Linked DNA regions of Homo sapiens: region 2 is linked to region 1. The links are contacts of gene promoters, found by promoter capture Hi-C in human tissues and cell types (Jung and others, 2019). All regions are on one chromosome and are shown on one strand. The core of a region is centred on a gene start or on the middle of the fragment in contact, and the rest is flanking DNA. Distances in the headings are between cores, read along the strand shown. Region 1 holds the start of PWP2 (PWP2 small subunit processome component). Region 2 overlaps AGPAT3 (1-acylglycerol-3-phosphate O-acyltransferase 3).

Region 1 (2,514 bases), core at 7-2,506:
TGCTTAGAACTCAGGGCTTCCAGAAGTGTGGTAAGCCAGCATCCTATTTACTAACTCACGAGCACGAGCGTTCACTGGAGACTGCCATGCGCACAGACACGCACACCTTATATTCTCTCTCTAGCAGGAGGGGGATGAGAAGTGTGGGAGCAGGGGCTACTTTAGACGGTGGTCACGGAGAGGCACCTGGAAGGGTCACCTGAGCTGGAATCTAAATGGGAAGGCACCAGCCAGGCCCTGAAGCTGTGAGTGGGCAGCGCCCTCAGGACCTCAGGGAGGAGCTTGGTCAGCAGAAGGACTTTAAGCGGCCAGGCAGGCTCCAAGGCACATTTTTTGCCACCTTGCAGTAGGAATGTGGAGCGGATGAAGTCCTGGCCTGTGAGGACGTGGATATGGTTTCTGGTTTGGTGCTGGGCACACAGCGGTGGCTCCACCAGCACAGGGGACACAGGAGCAGCACTCTGAGGGGCCAGTACCATGCCCAGTTTCGGACAGGACAAGTGTAGTACACGGTGGGCTCAGCAGCAGGCGGCCCGTGCAACCCTGGAAGCGCAACGGTCAGGGCCACTGTGGGAAACACAGGCGTCCCCATAACCGGCCAGCTGTAGCAAACGCTTCAGAGACCCCCAGGCCGGCTCCACGGCCCCCTCTTATTACCTGTCTCACCCGCCTCCTGCACTTCACATCTGGGACAAGTCTTCCCTGGCTCTCAAAGCTGAGGGCGTCCGCCTCAGGAATTCCCTCCGGCCTCGGGAAACAGAGCTCACACCTGGGTTCCCCGCCCTTCCGCTCACCTGGACGCTCGCTCGTTAGGGACCAGTCCCGGGCCCCGGGTCCCTGCTGTTCTCACCCCGCCTGCGCGCGCCCGCGTCCCCGCCCCGTCCCACCTCCTCATCCCTCCCGAGGGTGCTGTGCCCTCCCCGACTGCACCAACTCCAGCCTTTAGGTTGGGCCATACTCAGGTTAAAAATATCCCGGGACCCCGACAAATGTCCCTGTTCCCTCCGAGAAGCCGTCGGCGCCTCCGTCCCAGCTCTCCCAGGAGCCCCACCACAGCCCCGCGTCCCCGAGGCCACGGGCGCGCAGACAGCCGGCGACCCCCACGCGGCCAGACGCCGCAAAAGCAGACCACGCGCCCCCAGCCCGCCCGGAGCCAGCTCAGGCGCCGTCCACCGGAAGAGCCGCGCCGATCCAACAGACCGCCCGCCGCCCGCGCTCACCCGGTAAGCGAACTTCATCACGGCCGTCGCACGTGTGCCGCAGCTCAACCCGGCGGCCGCCCACAGAGACACTTCCCGGGGGTCCGCGCGGCACCGCCCACAGCACGCACTTCCGGGAAGCGACGGCGTGCACCGCCCACAGCGCGCGCGCCCGGGACGGGGTCGCGCACCACCGTCCGCAGCGGCCCAGGAGGCAGGAGGAGCTGCGTCGCCCTCGCCCCGCCCCGAGGCGGAGTTTGAACGCGAGGCCCAACCCCTCCCAAGGCGGGGGCCTTCTCCGGGCCCCGCCCACACCCCGGAGCCACACTGCAGGGCGCCTCTTAGGCGCGCTCCAGCGCTGGGCGCGCTCCGCACGGACGCCCAGCCTGGCACAGCAGCGTCCACAACATGAGAGCGCTGCACACCCAAATGTCTTCGTTCTTGTGAACTGTTGGGTAAGGAATTATGAATAAAGTCCCGAATGCTGGCCGGTGCGGTGGCTCACGCCTGGGAGACTGAGGCGGGTGGATGACCTGAGGTCAGCAGTTCGAGACTAGCCTGGCCAACATGGTGAAACATCATCTCTACTAAAGTATAAAAATGAGGCGCATGCCTGTAGTCCCAGCTACTCGGGAGGCTGAGGCAGGAGAATGGCTTGAACCTGGGAGGCGGAGGCTGCAGTGAGCCCAGATCGCGCCATTGCACTCCAGCCTAGGCAACAGAGCATGACTGTCTCAGAGAAAAAAAAAAAAAAAAAAAAAAAAATAATCCGAATGTTTCCCAAAAGGCAAATAATCTATGCCCAAGAGTCAGGAACAAGGACTAGGGAGATAAAACAATAAAATCTTCACATTACATACTGTTGTCACACCATGTCGCAGCAAAAGATCCAGTGCAAAATAGTTTCTTCTTAAAATGTGTATTTTCAGAATTACAATGCTTACATTTTAAAGTCTTAATACAATGGTTTTAATCTAACAATATATTACATAATATGAAAAATGACTTTTCATAGTAAACCATGAAAATGGAATACCTGCAGTGTCAAAGTCACCAACTTGTCACCTTTTCCAGTCACAGAATCCCAACACATTGTATTAATGATGACTGGGGGGGGTCTTACAGCCTGATGTATATAGGATGAATAAATGTAGAGAAAGGAGCATTTTCATGAAAAATAAAATTTAAAAACCAGGTAGGATTTATTTTAAAGAACACAGTTGAAAGTAAAACATTTACATCAGCCCAGTTTGCCCTTTTGTAAAAAGTAGTATAGCTTTTCATTTTATATACAAACCTGCAGTGTCTGATTTCA
Region 2 (2,514 bases), core at 10-2,509, 130 kb after region 1:
GGGCGTTCGCCCTCAGCCAGCCCCAGGACAGGGCAGAGTGAGGGCTCCGACTTCGAGGAATGGACCTGACGTTCGTGCCGGTGTGCTTATCACTACGGGCGCCCTCCACGGGGCCCCCACTGGGAGCCAAGGTGCTGAGCCGAGCGATGCTCCCGGGGGACGGGACCCGGCCGTCCACTCCCAGGAGGACAGCAGAAATTCATTACGAGACAGTTTCGGGGGCGGGGGGTGCAGAAGAGGTGAGGGGCCAGGTTAAGTTCCCAAGATAACTGATTAAAAACCAAAAAATTTGATCTAAGTTTAAGGAGAGAAAGCAGCCAAAGGCTCCCTCTTGGAAGCGGAGTTCTGGAGAGACGGCGTCCGCGGGAGGCCTCTCCGGCCGGACCCACCTCCCACGGGCGCGCGTGGAGATGCTGGGACCCTGCGCTGTGGGAGGCTGAAGACTTCACCTGACAGGCCTTCTGAATTCTTTACTCTTGGCTCAAGTTTTGTTAATATTAGTCACCAGTTAATAAGAAAAATAGTTTCTAATTGTCTTTTCCTGCACTCTGTGTGTTGGTTTTGAGTTAACTGGATACCACCGTCAGGGCCGCGTGTGTTCAGTCACAGCCATTAATTATTCCTTTTTCTTAAACTCTTGGTTTCCGTAGCTGGAGCCTTTTTCTATCTCAGTTACTCCTATCAGTCTGCGAACTCCAAAGGAAGCTTTCAAGACAGGAGAGAGAGAGAAGAGGTGAGACGGATGACTTTGCCTTTTTGCTGTAAAACGTGTTACTGGGGCTTCCTTCCTCTGCCCCAGACCCTGTCCCTCTGCCCCGCACCCAGTGGCCTCTGCTGTCAGTGAGTAGGTGTGGCCCGCGGGGAGACAGCCCTCTCAGACCGTGGTCTGCTCAGGCAGGGGTGAGGGGCACGTCTTCTGACCGGCTGGGTCCGAGGCAGGTGGACACGTGGACCTTGCCCTGCCTGCCCCTCTGGGTCTTTGGCTGGTGGGAGCAGAAGGGCTTCGGGGCATTCTAACAGCTCGGCCTTGCAAACCCAACAGGTGACAGAGGTGGACGAGCAGGACCCTCGGATGTAAGCAGGTCACATCCTGTCCTCTGTGGGTGGCCTCAAGTCATCTCGTAGTCCAATGGGAGAGGCTGGTGGCAGTCACTGCCTCTCAGGACCCCTCCCACCAAGGCCCCTGGCAGGGGCGGCAGGAGCAGGGGAGGAGCTGGCCCAGCTGCTGGGCCTGGGGAGTCGGCTCACGGGGCGATGCACACGGACTGTGTCTCCACGGACAGAGACCCCTCAATTACGGGGTGTGGGTGGGCGCCGGAGCTCACCACAGGGACAGGCTGGGTGTCTGTTCGGCCCCAGGCTAGCTGATGAGTCGTGGTGGGCCTGGCATTGTGCCTGGGGTGGGCACACAGTGGGGAAGTCACTGGGGGTCAATGGGGAGGAGCTGAATGATGATGTCCTGCTTAAACCTCCCGAATGGCCAGCCCAGCCTGACCCCTAAGAGCCCAAAAGCAGACAGGGGGGCTGGGGACCCTCTCGGGGACCCTCTCGTCGGCATCCTCAAGGGCGCCAGCCAGTGGGGCTGCAGTGGGGATGGCGCCAGGTGGCGGCCGTTCGGCTCTCTGGGGAGGCGACCCTCAGCTCAGTGCAAGAATCCAGGCTCTGAGGCCCGCAGGCCGTGGGGGGATCCTGGCTCCAGGGTCCATAACAGCCAGGCCCCTGCCTCCCACAGCCACTGTGATGAGTCACCAGGTCCCGGACCCTGTGGCTGATACTGTGAGGCCCGTCAGAGTGTGAGCTGTTAGCGACAGTGTCCATTACCTGCTCCCACAAACCCCAAGAAAGTCAGGATCAGGAGAGGTGATCCGCTGGCAAAGACGCCCAAGACAAAACTGAAGAGGGGAGACAGGAGAATGGTGGCCCAGGACAGGAAGTTCAGGAGGGTCCACGGCCTCCGGGCAGGCTTAAACTGCTCCCCTGGAAACATGCCCTTCTGATTATATATCTCCTGGAGCGCGTCCTAGAAGAGTCAACAGAGAAAAAGGAAGCGTGAGGCTTCTTTACAAGCTATTATTTCAATGCAGGAGAAGATTGTTGGCAATGAAAAACGACTCAACCTAAAAAAAGCGCCACGTCAATTAAGAGCACAAATCACAGAAGCTGCAGGTGCAGGCGAAGCTGGCTGTACGTTTTTGGAGAATCTGATAGCGTGCATCGAGAGCTCGCAAGCATATCAACCCTTTGACTGAGGAAGTCTCCCAGGAAAATAATCGGTCAAGAAAGCAACGTTGTGAATACCAACACCTGCCTGCCCAGCACTGCCCCGGCCACCCGCCACATCCCACACCTCCCACGAGCCAGAGGCAGTGGGGGTGGCAGGTGTGGCCTGTGTGAGTCCCGCGGCCTGGATGCAAATCCCTGCAAAGCGCACTCTCAGCTGCACGGCCCAAGGAAAGTTCCTTAACCTCGCATACCTCGGTTTCCTAGCCTGGCAAAGGAGGCTAATGAGGAGCT

The links. The method cuts DNA at HindIII sites, captures the fragments that hold promoters and counts their contacts. A contact is called where the count stands out against the background at its distance.
Region 2: a contact is called between a fragment that was not itself captured here and the fragment with the promoter of PWP2 in region 1, in 3 of the 25 tissues and cell types used here (lymphoblastoid cells, mesendoderm cells and thymus).

What each region holds. Positions count from the first base shown.
Region 1 is chr21:44,106,141-44,108,654 of GRCh38, reverse strand. PWP2 (PWP2 small subunit processome component) reads right to left here and starts at 1,256. Exons shown (of 21, transcript NM_005049.3): 1 at 1,221-1,256. The coding sequence starts at 1,238. It overlaps TRAPPC10 (trafficking protein particle complex subunit 10), which reads right to left. Exons shown (of 23, transcript NM_003274.5): 23 at 2,103-2,514. RefSeq lists silencers at 1,220-1,603, 1,194-1,710. The HindIII fragment of the contact is 7,831 bases long and covers 1-2,514 here.
Region 2 is chr21:43,980,495-43,983,008 of GRCh38, reverse strand. It overlaps AGPAT3 (1-acylglycerol-3-phosphate O-acyltransferase 3), which reads right to left. Exons shown (of 10, transcript NM_020132.5): 9 at 1,822-2,020; 10 at 1-705. The coding sequence ends at 617. Among named protein-coding and RNA genes, the nearest start is that of TRAPPC10, 31 kb to the left of the region's middle. RefSeq lists enhancers at 1-279, 280-1,041, 1,042-1,803. The HindIII fragment of the contact is 5,682 bases long and covers 1-2,514 here.